Linked DNA regions of Homo sapiens: region 2 is linked to region 1. Evidence: promoter capture Hi-C in human tissues and cell types (Jung and others, 2019). All regions are on one chromosome and are shown on one strand. Each heading gives the region's core, a stretch centred on a gene start or on the middle of the fragment in contact. The rest is flanking DNA. Distances are from core to core; before and after follow the strand shown.

Region 1 (6,535 bases), core at 1,108-3,607:
GCCTGGCCAATATGGTAAAACCCCGGTCTCTACTAAAAATACAAAAATTAGCTGGGCGTGGTGGCGCACGCCTGTAGTCCCAGCTACTTGGGAGGCTGAGGCAGGAGAATCGCTTGAACCCAGGAGGCAGAGGTTGCAGTGAGCCAAGATTGCGCCACTGCACTCTAGCCTGGGCAACAGAGCAAGACTCTGACTCAAAAAAAAAAAAAAAAAGAATTTCACTGATACTTTTCACAAAATATACAGAAGGAGGCACAAATTCCACCACTATGGCACTCTGCTGCGTTGGCCAAGTGTCTTGATCCTTTGGCCTCAATTTTCTTATCTACGATATTAGGGTAATTGTTATGTGAACTACCCACCTCACAAGTCCTTTGTGGGTTAATTCATAACTGTGCTGTGGGTATTTCTTTTTCTTTCCTTTCTTCCTCCTTTCCTTTCTTTCTTTCTTAAAGATGGGTTCTCATTATGGTGCTTAGACTAGACTCTAGACCCAATTCCTGGCCTCTCACCATGTTGCCCAGACCAGACTCAACTCCTGGACTCAAGGAATCCTCCCACCTCAGCCTTCAATTAGCTGGGATCAGAGGTGTGCACCACCATGCCTGGCACTGTGGATATTTCTAAGTGATTATTCTTCTCAAATGAACTACATAAAAAACAAAAGATTCATGAATTTACTAATGGTTCTTTGTGATGGATGTGCTAATATAGAGACTAAAATCAAGGCTCCAACCTCTAAAACATTTTTTTTTAAATTCCAGACTTGTTTCCCCATCCCACTGTGCAAACTGAACAAAAACTGGGCTAGCACTCCTGTCTGGAACATGTAATAAGGAAATAAATGTGCTGACTCAGAGAACACAGACATATTTAATATAAAATAAGATAGAAAACTGGCTGAACCAAGTCATAACACAGTCTAAATCCACATATAAAAGATTGAGATGATTTTCTGCTTTGCTTTATTCAAGCCCAATGCTTTATCAGCACAGCCAGCCAAAAATTTACAACCCATACACAGACTATGTAAACCTTTAGTTGCACATACAGTAAGACCAGCAGGTACACACTATACACATTTTTAATTAAAAAAATGACTAACCACTGATTTTGTCACCACACTTAACAACGACCTGATATGGCACAGAGTGATGTGTACCAAACATGGAAATACCAACTTGGGCGACGGTTTGAATCTTGTTAACTTCAGTGCAACCACACCCCCCAAATGCATGTAAAGTTTGCACACATGGTTTTTTCAAGGCCAGCCTGTCTTTGTTTCCCTCTCCTCTGCATTTACCCAAGATCTTGGCTCTGAGACAGAAAACTCCCACTCTCAATTGGTTCATTCCGTCCTATGCAATTAAGCAACACCACAATCCAGTAAATGCAATGGCTCAATTATTTATCTTCTGGCCGACTTTACCAGGTATTTGGAAAAGGACAATGTCAAGAGGTTTATTTCTCTCTCTAGAGCTGGCTTGACGGGTTGATGGGGATTTTATTTTGTCTTTTTTTCTCTTTTTTACAAGGCGGGGACGTGGGGGGAGCATAATTTAACCTAGAAAAAGATGCGAGGGAATTTAGAAAGAGTACCGGTCTGTCAATTTCCCTACAGGAAACTTGATTCTTATGCAATAAAGCCTACCCACGACCAGCCAGCCCGTAAGGCTGCAGGCGACAGACACACCTATTCCTGCCTCCAAAAGGGCACAGCTGTCTCCTGAAGGAGCGGGAACAGGGCAAGCGGAGGAAGTGGCTCAGCGGGAGCCGCCGACCGGGCGGGGAGGAGGCGCTTTCCGACCCCCCACTCGCGCCGGTGATCCCCGTCGGCGTGACAGTCGCTCCGGTGGCCGGAACGTCCCCAGGGCCCCAGGGAGCAGGAAATCGGGGGACTGTCCCTCACTCCTGCCGCCGCAACCGAGTGCGCCCTCGCCCCACGGTGCCCCCTCGAGCGCGTTCTGTTTCTCCGAAGAACGAAACTTCCCTCCAGCGCCCCGAGTCCCTTCCGAGGCCCGCTCCTGTCATCCCGAAGAGTCTTCCCTCAGGGCGACCCTCCGCGTCTCTTCATCTCTCCCGGCCCCACTGCAGCGTCCATCACAACATCCCCAAGGTCCCAGAGGCCCCCTGCCGCTGCGGAGCCCCCGGGTCCCCAGGCCTCCCCAACGGCCCCACCCTGCACCCCCTTCACCTGTTTCTCCGGCAGAGGCCGAGAGGCCGGGGCTGCGCGTGTGCCGGGGACGGGCGGCGAGGCTCCCTCAGGCCGAAGGGCCTCTCCGAGCCGAGGGGGAGAGACAGCGCCAAGCCGGGGTGCCTGTCCAGGATCCGGTTGGGGCTTGTTCCCTCGGCTGCGACGTCGGAACCCCCGGCTCCCCCTCCCAGTCTGCGCCGCCGCAGCTCCGGAAACCGCTGAATTACAGCCCCTTCAGCCAATCCTCGCCCAGCCCCAGCCTGGCCGAGGCACGCCGTCATGCATAATTCATGAAAGGCCAGCTCGTTCGGCCACCCAGAGGTCCCAGTGCGTGTGCGGTACAGCCGAAGCCCCGCCCACTGACCAATGAGGAGAGCAGCTAGGAGAAAGGGCGGAGCCAAGAGGAGACTGATACGCCCCTGTGCTGGCTGTTCCGACAGTTCGGTGCTCCTCCCTCCGCCACAGCGAGGGAAGAGCCGAGGACTTGGGCACAGAAGCCCGGGGGGAGGGAGGGAAGATGACCGGAATGTCCTGCTGAAAACTCAGCTGAGTTCCTGGCAGTGCGTGACGTCAAGGCACTTTAAATGCCCCTGATACAGCTCCCTCCTGCCCGCTCTCCCTTTTCCCGGCCCTTGGCACCACGTGGTGGCGAGGTTGAGAGCCTCTTACCACGCGGGAATCAGCTAGTTAGATAGTCCCCAGGTATCTCCAGATCCTCTGGGGACCCAACTCCTGAATTGGGTTCTGGGGACAACAAAAAGAACATGGGTGACTCCGCCTGCTTTGAACTTCAGTTTCTGCGTGAGCAGGGACACACACACCCGGAAACATGACGTGGAAATAGAGTAATTACTAGAGTGCGTGGGGAGAGGGTAGTGGATTTAACCCCGTACTCCGTTCCATCACTTCAAGCATCAAACGCCGACCAGCTAGCCCATTGGCCCGTACAGGCGAATGCAGAAGACGGTGTATACGAAAGCTGATAACGTGTAGGGCTTGACATTTTTATGCGTCTGAATTGAAATACATGAAATGTTCTGCCTTTTTCTTTTCCACCTTGCCTACTTGGTATGCAAGTTTTACTGAATTGAAGCCAGTGGTTGATAGGAAATGTAGACATTTTGCCTTTCATAATAGAGGATGAACTTTGCATAATGGAGTGATTTCTGTGTATGTGCTGATACTATCAGGGTTTTTAATTTTTATTTTTTTGGGTCTTTAAAAATATGTTATTAATATTTGTGTTTGTTTAATACGAACAGGTATAAAGACAAAAATCTAAAAAGGACCCATTATCTCACTGCTCAGCTAACCCCTGACATATTTTTTTTCAATGAACCTAATACATGTTCCTGTTTAGAAAATGCAGACCGTTCAGAAAGGTCAAAAATATTAAATGAAAATCTTTCCCTACCCCCATCATTCCTTCTCCCCAAGGATAGCTGTTCTTATTAATTTCTAGTGAGAAAAATCAATGACTCTTAACCTTTGAAGGCAGTCACAGATCCTTCTGAGTGTTTGAAGGAGACTAGATTCTAGCCCCAGAAACAATACAAGGTTTTACTCACATGGTTCCCCAGATACCTGAAGCCTGTCTAAGTCTACAGATTCAGACCGCTCGTACCACCTCATATCCAATGAGGGACAGAGGCATCTACAGGGCAATTCATAGGGTCACTGGTGGTGAGAATTGAGAACCTCCTATTGCCCTCTGGTAGACACAGCTCAGTATGGAAATTGCTGTATTTACCTGTAGAGTGTGTGTGTATTGATTAGGCTGTTTATCTACACCACAGGACAGATATCCCCCATCTCCGCCTATAGTCTCTTGTAACTACGCTATCCCGTGCGGCCAACTGCCTCCCTGATAACATAGGGTCTAGGATTTGTTTAGTGATTTACTGCTTACAAAGGACTTACACACCTTATACACTCCCTGCCTGGTTTCTTTCTCACAATCATGAATAGCAGATAGGAGAGGCCATATTATCCGCTGATAGAAAACTAAAGACAACATAATATGACATTTTCAAGATCACAGAGAAACTCAGAAATATACCAGGTTCAGAGTCAGGTTTGGGGGCTTTACGTCCCATAGCTTTGTTCCATTCATTCAAACCCTGCCCTGCTTCTGACTTCTCAAGAGCTGGCCTCTGTTTCCCTCATTGGCCTCCCCACCAGTAACACATAAAATCTACCTCTGCGACTATGGGTTTGACCTGCAAAAATTCTCTTCAGCCCAGACACTGGCCTTTCTCCACAACCCCGCCAAATTCCTCTTGGCTAAATGCTGCAATTTCTGTCCCTTGGGCCACTGCCTTAACCACCTGATTATTCTCTCCTTATTCTATCCTATTCTTCCACTGGCTGCCAGGGACATCATCCTAAAAATTAAATAAATAAACATTCAGGCCAAGGCGGGTGGATCACAAGGTCAGTTCAAGACCAGCCTGGCCAACACAGTGAAACCCCGTCTCTACTAAAAATACAAAAATTAGGCTGGGCACTGTGGCTCACGCCTGTAATCCCAGCACTTTAGGAGGCTGAGGCGGGCAGATCACCTGAGGTCAGGAGTTCGAGACCAGCCTGACTAATATGATGAAACCCTGTCTCTACTAAAAATACAAAAATCAGCCAGTCATGGTGGCTTGCACCTGTAATCCCTGCTACTCGGGAGGCTGAGGGAAGAGAATCTCTTGAACCCGGGAGGTGAAGGTTGCAGTGAGCCGAGATCGCGCCATTGCATTCTAGCCTGGACAACAAGAGCGAAACTCCATCTCAAAACAAAAGTAAAAATTAGCTAGCCATGGTGGCACGTGCCTGTAGTCCCAACTACTCAGGAGGCTAAGGCAGGAGAATTGCTTGAACCCAGGAGGTGGAGGTTGCAGTGAGCCCAGATCCCTCCACTGCACTCCAGCCTAGGCGATAGAGCAAGACCCTGGCTCAAAAAAAAAAAAAAAAAAAAATTCAATCATGTCACAGTCGGCTTAAAAATCTCTATGGTTCCCTACTACCGGCAAGATAAAATCCAAGTTAATTTTTTTTTTTTTTTTTTTTTTTGAGACAGAGTTTCCTCTTGTCGCCTAGGCTGGAATGCGATGGTATGATCCTGGGTCACTGCAACCTCCGCCTCCCAGGTTCAAGCAATTCTCCTGCCTCAGCTTCCCAAGTAGCTGGGACTACAGGTGCCCACCACCATGCCCAGCTAATTTTTGCATTTTTAGTAGAGACGGGGTTTTACTGTGTTGGCTAGGCTGGTCTTGAACTCCTGACCTCAAGTGATCCGCCCACCTCAGCCTCCCAAAGTGCTGGGAGCCACCGTGTCCGGCCAATCCAAGTTAAATTTTAAAAATGCTGACCAGGCACAGTGGCTCATGCCTGTAATCCTAAAGCTTTGGGAGACCGAGGCAGGAAGATCATTTGAGGCCAGGAGTTCGAGATCAGCCTGGGCAACATGGCAAAACACCAACTTTACAAAAAATTAGCCGGGCGTGGTGGTGGCATGCCTGTAGTCCCAGCTATTCTGAGGACTGAGGCAGGAGGATCACTTGAACTTAGAAAGAAGTTCGAAGTTACAGTGAGCTATGACTGTTCTACTGTACTGTAGTCTGAGCAACAGAACAAGACCAACCTTGTCTCAAAAACAAACAATAAACAAAAAGCTGACCATTTAATTCAGTGCCATGGCTGGGCGCGGTGGCTCATGCCTGTAATCCCAGCATTTTGGGAGGCCGAGGCGGGCGAATCCTGAGGTCAGGAGTTCGAGACCAGCCTGGCCAACATGATGAAACCCCGTCTCTACTAAAAATACAAAAAAATTAGCTGGGCATAGTGGCGGGTGCCTGTAATCCCAGCTACTTGGGAGGCTGAGGCAGGAGAATCGTTTGAACCCGGGAGGCAGAGGTTGCAGTGAGCCGAGATCATGCCACTGCACTCCAGCCCAGGCAACAAAGTGAGACTCTGTCTCAAAAAAAAAAAGAAAAAAGAAAAAAACACCATAATTCAGTGCCATGCATGTGGTAGGAGCTCAATTGATGTTCCTTCTTTCTCCCTCTTTATTTGAATCATAAAATCCTACAGGCCCAGCACAGTGGCTCACGCCTGTAATCTCAGCACTTTGAGAGGCCGAAGCGGGTGGATCACCTGAGGTCAGGAGTTCAAGACCAGCCTGACCAACATGGTGAAAGTCTGTCTCTACTAAAAATACAAAAATTAGCCAAGCGTGTTGGCGGGCACCTGTAATCCCAGGTACTCGGTAGGGTGAGGCAGAAGAATCGCTTGAACCCAGGAGACAAAGGTTGCAGTGAGCTAAGATTGCACCATTGCAATCCAGCCTGGGTA
Region 2 (6,535 bases), core at 4,036-6,535, 180 kb before region 1:
CTCACTGAATGGTAATTGTGTGGGTTTTCACACAAGAGAGATAACACACGCAGGTATGCACACACACACACACACACACACACACACACACACACAACAAAATCAAATCAGAATGCGAACATTGTTACCAGTAGCAGACTCGCAGGGAACTGGTGTGTAGTATTTGGAGTATACTTCATCTTTTGGCCGATCAGGAAACACGTAGATAAGGTAATTCAAGTCTCCCAAGCGGTCGGCTAGGGACCGAATGGAGAAGTCTCTGGTGGTAAAAGGCATCAGATTCCAAAACATTCTTTCCTCTAGATCAATAAACAGAACAATCACATTCTAAACATGATTTCTGAATTAGGAAATCTTAAAACCCCAACATACTATAAATTCAAGCTTGCCATTATAATGGCTCCAATAGAAATCTCCATTTAAAAATAACCATGGGTTATAGATGAAATACTTTTATTTATTTACTTACTTACTTACTTATTTTGAGACGGAGTCTCACTCTGTTACCAGGTTGGAGTGCAGTGGTGCGATCTTGGCTCACTGCAACCTCCAACTCCCTGGTTCAAGCGATTCTCCTGCCTCAGCCTCCCAAGTAGCTGGGATTACAGGCACGCGCCACCACACCTGGCTAATTTTGTATTTTTAGTAGAGATGGAGTTTCCCTATGTCAGCCAGGATGGTCTTGATCTCCTGACCTCATGATCCACCCACCTCAGCCTCCCAAAGTGCTGGGATTACAGGCGTGAGCCACCGTGCCCGGCCTGAAATAGTTTTAAAAGCCATGGGTAGGGGCCAGGCATGTTGGCTCATGCCTGTAATCCCACACTTTTGGAGGCCTAGGCAGGTGGATCACCTGAGGTCAGGAGTTCAAGACCAGCCTGGCTAACATGATGAACCCTGTCTCTACTAAAAATACAAAAATCAGCCAAGTGTGGTGGCACTCATCCGTAGTCCCAGGTACTATGCTGAGGTAGGAGAATGGCTTGAAGCTGGGAGGTGGAGGTTGCAGTGAGCTGAGATCATGACACTGCACTCCAGCCTGGGTGACAGAGACCCCATCTCAAAAATAAATAAATAAATAAATAAATAAAAATAAAAGCCATGGGTAGATAAGCAGGTAATACAAAAATCACTTCCCAAGAGATCCAATGATCTCAGACGTTTCAAGTTCAAACAGTATTCTAGCCCTCAGTAGAAGAAACAGTTTTTACTGGCCCCCAATCCCTGATTTCCCATACAAAGATATATAAAAGCTAGGAAGCATGCCCACAACCAGAGAAAGCATAAGAGCTATTAAAAGTGATGAATTTTTTTTTTTTCGAGATGGAGTCTTGCTCTGTTGCCCAGGCTGGAGTGCAGTGGCGCGATCTCGGCTCACTGCAAGCTCCGCCTCCCGGGTTCACGCCATTCTCCTGCCTCAGCCTCCCAAGTAGCTGGGACTACAGGTGCCCACAACTACACCCGGCTAATTTTTTTGTGTTTTTAGTAGAGACGGGGGTTTCACTGTGATGGCCAGGATGGTCTCGATCTCCTGACCTCATGATCCGCCTGCCTTGGCCTCCCAAAGTGCTGGGATTACAGGCGTGAGCCACCGCACCCAGCCTTTTTTTTTTTTTCTTTTAAGAGACAGGGTCTTACTCTGTTGCCCAGGCTGGAGTACAGTGATGTGATCATGACTCACTGTAACCTTGAACTCCCAGGGTCAAGTGATCATCCCACCTCACCCTCCAGAGTAGCTGGGACTACAGGCGCACACCATGAGCACCACCATGCCCACCTAATTAACTTATTTATTTATTTATTTACTTAGAGACAGGGTCTTACTATGTTGCCCAAGCTGGGCTTGAACTCCTGGCCTCAAGAGATCCTCCTGCCTGAGGCTCCCAAAGTGCTGGGATTACAGGCATGAGCCACCGCACCCAGCCAAAAGTTATTAAAAACTTTAATTCACAGAAAATGAACCAGCAAGCTACCCTTATTGTGAGGGTCAGAGGAGAGAACTAACTTTCCTGATGCCCTGGTGCAGTGGCTCAAGCCCGTAATCCCAATACTTTGGGAAGCCAAAGTGGGGGATTGTTTGAGCCCAGGAGTTCGAGACCAGCCTGGGCAACATACAAAAAATTTAAAAATTAGATGGGTGTGGTGGTGCACGTCTGTGGTCCCAGCTAATCGGGAGGCTAAGGGAGGAGGACTGCTTGAGGCCAGGAGGTCAAGGCTGCAGTGAGCCATGTTTGTGCCGCTGCACTCCAGCCCGGGCAAAAGAGTGAGACCCTGTTTCAAAAAAAGAAAAGAACTAACATCTTGGGTAGAAATGGTTGATGGCAATATCCATATGTTAATTAGGATAAAGGAATATTTTTACTACTGTAAGAACTCCAAATCATCAAATTCTTCACTGAAATAAGCTTTATGCAGAGTAGTACAATAAGGCAAACATTTTAAGAGGGAAGCAACTGAGATTCTGCACGGACTCTTGTATCATAGGTAGCCATGTCATGGTTAAATGTTCATGTGTAACCATGCTGCCATATACTTTCATGTATAACCAAATTAGCAATTGTGTTTCCCATAATAGTATTTTTCATAGGCTGCCTTATTATGAGTATGTCATGGCTATACATTTATGTTTCCCATAATTAGTACTGACCTCAACAAATAGTAAGTACCCACTAAATTATTTGTTAAAATAATTTTGTAACGAAAGCAGCTAACTTTGGACATAAGAAGGGAGGGGCACTCACGAGAATCAAACTTCCAAGCAATGGTGATGCCGCCAATTTCTGAGTCACTGAATCTCAGGAGGAAGGTCCCATCTGGCTTGTTAATGAGTAGGTCATGGGCCTGTTGCTTGTTTACAAACCCCAAAATGGCCCTGGATCACCAAGGACAAAGGACAGAAGCAGAGTGTGACTTACGATGCCAGAGAGAAGACCTTCAGACTCTGTCGGCGCCTTAAGAAATAATGATTCTCACCCATCATTCCAATGAGGCTTGAGATGTTTTTTTAACACTTCCATCACACCGTCAAACCATTGCCAGAAAGTGTAATTCCGTCCTGGTAAATTCTCCTGGTTGGAGATACAACAGTGAACATAAGAACACCAGAGTAACACTTGGAATATTATACACATATTTAATTGGAAAAATTAAATGGGAAACAAACATCTACCCTTGTCAGAGGCATACAAATATCCCCGCCTACCTGAGTTTTACCTAATGGCCCCATGGAGAGGAAAAGAGGGAAGAAGGGGAAAATACCAAACTGCAGTTACCAGCACCCAGTGGGCTCCTGCTACAGACACTTTCACCTGGGACTGGGCTGACCCGTCCCTTGCTAGTTTCGATGTGTGGTCTGTGACCAGAAGCATCAGTGTCACCTGGGAGCTTCTGAGAAATGCACGTTGTTAGGCTCCAAATTAAACATTTAAAACACCTTGGGGGTGGGGGGTGTAGGAAAAGAAACAAAAATTAAATTCAAATCAAGGTGATAGCCGGGCATGGTGGCTCACGTCTGTAATCCCAGCACTTTGGGAGGCTGAGGTAGGCAGATCACTTGAGGTCAGGAGTTTGAGACCATCCTGGCCAACATGGTGAAACCCCGTCTCTACTAAAAATACAAAAATTGGCTGGACATGGTGGCGGGTGCCTGTAATCCCGGCTACTCAGGAGGCTGAGACAGGAGAATCACTTGAATCTGGGAGACGGAGGTTGCAGTGAGCCCAGAATGTACCACTGCACTCCTTGTGACAGAGCGAGACACCATCTCAAAAATAAATAAATAAACAAAAATAAATAGGGTGGGCACAGTGGACTCACGCCTGTAATCCCAGCACTTTGGGAGGCCGAGGCGGGCAGATCACCTGAGGTCGGGAGTTCGAGACCAGCCTGACCAACATGGAGAAACCCCGTCTCCACTAAAAATACAAAATTGCGGGGCGTGGTGCCGCATGCCTGTAATCCCAGCTACTCGGGAGGCTGAGGCAGGAGAATCGCTTGAAACCAGGAGGCGGCGGTTGCGGTGAGCCAAGATCGTGCCATTGCAGTCCAGCCTGGGCAACAAGAGCGAAACTCTGTCTCAAAAAAAAAAAATGAATAAAAATAAAATCAAAGTGACGTCTGAATTAGCAGATGCTAGAGGAGGAGTTTCTTTCATCAGCATCCCTCTTTGTGGGTTGAGGGTCCCATAGGAGCCTGATCTGGCATTACACATGGGGAACATAAGAGAGTAAAGGGGAGAGAGGCCCAGAGTTCGCATCCCCTCAAAAGCTTTGCTTCTCATGAGCTATGTTAACATCTGCTTTGCTCTATTTCCTTTACAAAGGAAGAAAATGCATTAACTGTAGACAAAGGTCAACTTATTTAAAATATGCAAAGATGTAATTTTCTACACGTGACCTGGGTAACTCTCAAGTTGTCCATCTAGTCAGAAGCTTCTATTACTTTCGGTACATTTTATTAGAGACATGAAGAATAAGGGCCCAGGGCAGGGAGACTCCTGAGAGCATCTGGTTGGGAAGGACTGATCTAACAGCGGCTGGCAGCTGGGCTCCTCACCCTGTTGAACTGGGACCAGGACACAGACAGGCCACTGTAGTCCTCCAGGTGGCTGCTGCTGTTGTTGAACAGTTTCTGCGCCAGGAACACGAGGTTCTCCTTGGTCAGGCCCCGGTTGCTCTGCACTTCGGCCTTGAATTTCATGTTGAGCGCCTCACACAGCTGTGGCCACAGCACTTTGTCAGGCACGGCAAATGGCACCCTGCCCTGAGAGGGAGAGAGGCCAGAATCTGATGAGAAAACAGTTGCATGATTTATTCCCTCAAGCCACAAAAGAAAAACGCTGATGGCTGGGAGTGGTTACACACATTTGTCTTGCAGGGCCTGAGGATAAATTCAGACTCTGCTGGGGTACACGGTTCTGTGAAATTCAGAAGGTTCCGTTTCACCTTCTTTACACACAACTAGAAGGTAACCCATGCTATCCATGCTGTTTTGTAAATGAGCTGCTGAACTAACAGTCAAATCCTATGTTCTAACGGCCACAAACCAAAACATAACCAAGGTCTGGCTCTTAGATTGTAAACACCTTGGGAATTTAGAAATCTGAAAGACTGGTCCTCTAGGTACAAACAGAGAGAGTGTGCGTATGTGTGCACACGTGTCGGCATGTGTGTACACACGTGGAATCATTGCCCTCGACTCCTTCTGCCAAGAATTCTAGCTCAAAGTAAAACAACTTGGTATGGAAGAGTGGAAATTTTGAGTTGGATGGCTTTATTGAGAAATAGGTTAGAAGATTAACTTTTAATAAACTGCTTTTCAACCCGTTCAGCCATAGTACTCCATTTTATTTTGTTACAAACACTTTTTTCAATAGGTGATTTTCACATGATTTAAAATTCAAAAAGCACAGACGGCTACACAGTGAAGTCACTCCCTATCCCTGTCTCCCAGCAACCCAGTTCTTTTCTTTAAAGGCACCTAACACAGTTTCTTGTGTATCCCACCAAAGATATTCTATGCATGCCAGCAATGACATATACCTTTTCCTTTTCTTCACAAATGACAGCACAAAATCCACATGTTCTGCATCTTCCTCTTTTCACTTAATCCTCTATCTGGGAGACCTCCCATCAGCACATAAAGAAATTTCACCAGACCCCCATAGATGGGCATCAGTGTTACAGCCTCATCTTTAGCTATTACTAACAATGCTGCAATGTTCTTATGTTATTTGACCCACAGGACACATAGGCAAATATATATGGAGAATAAATTTCCACAATTATTTTTTTTTTTAGGTAAGGTCTCGCTCTGTCATCCAGGCTGGAGTACAGTGGCCCAATCTTGGCTCATTGCAACTTCTGCCTCCTTAGCTCAAGTAATTATCCTACCTCAGCCTCCCAAACAGCTGGGACTACAGGCGTGCACCACCATGCCTGGCTAATTTGTGTGTTTTTTGTAGAGACAGGGTTTTGCTATGTTGACAAGGCTGGCCTCAAATTCCTGGGCTCAAGAGATCCGCTTGCCTTGGCCTCCCAAAGTGCTGGGATTGCAGGCATAAACCACTGTGCCTGGCCACAAGTCTTTATTATTTATTTTTTATTTTTTATTTTTTTGAGACAGAGTCTCACTGTGTTGCCCAGGCTGGAGTGCAGTGGCACCATCTCAGGTCACTACAACCTCTGCCTCCCAGGTTCAAGCAATTCTCCTGCCTCAGCCTCCCGAGTAGCTGGGATCATAGGCACGCACCACCACGCCCAGCTAATTTTTGTATTTTTAGTAGAGATGAGAGTCTCACCATGTTGGCCAAGCTGGTCTCGAATTCCTGACCTCAAATGATCCACCCACCTCGGCCTCCCAAAGTGCTGGGATTACAGGTGTGAGCCACCGTGCCCAGCTGAAAGTCTTTTTTTTAACATAGCATAAGGTCGGCTGGGTGCAGTGGCTCATGCCTATAATCCCAGCACTTTGGGAGGCCGAGGTGGGTGGATCACTTGAGGTCAAGAATTCGAGACCAGCCTGGCCAACATGGTGA

Evidence for each region. The method cuts DNA at HindIII sites, captures the fragments that hold promoters and counts their contacts. A contact is called where the count stands out against the background at its distance.
Region 2: a fragment that was not itself captured here is called in contact with the fragment with the promoter of STAT3 in region 1 in 1 of the 25 tissues and cell types used here (adrenal gland).

The regions. Positions count from the first base shown.
Region 1 is chr17:42,386,085-42,392,619 of GRCh38, forward strand. It overlaps STAT3 (signal transducer and activator of transcription 3), which reads right to left and starts at 2,358. Exons shown (of 24, transcript NM_139276.3): 1 at 2,195-2,358. RefSeq lists silencers at 1,699-1,778, 2,009-2,288 and an enhancer at 2,809-3,078. The HindIII fragment of the contact is 15,490 bases long and covers 1-6,535 here.
Region 2 is chr17:42,207,430-42,213,964 of GRCh38, forward strand. STAT5B (signal transducer and activator of transcription 5B) reads right to left here. Exons shown (of 19, transcript NM_012448.4): 13 at 4,555-4,761; 14 at 2,974-3,068; 15 at 2,742-2,872; 16 at 129-299. Among named protein-coding and RNA genes, the nearest start is that of GHDC, 16 kb to the left of the region's middle. The HindIII fragment of the contact is 7,783 bases long and covers 1,395-6,535 here.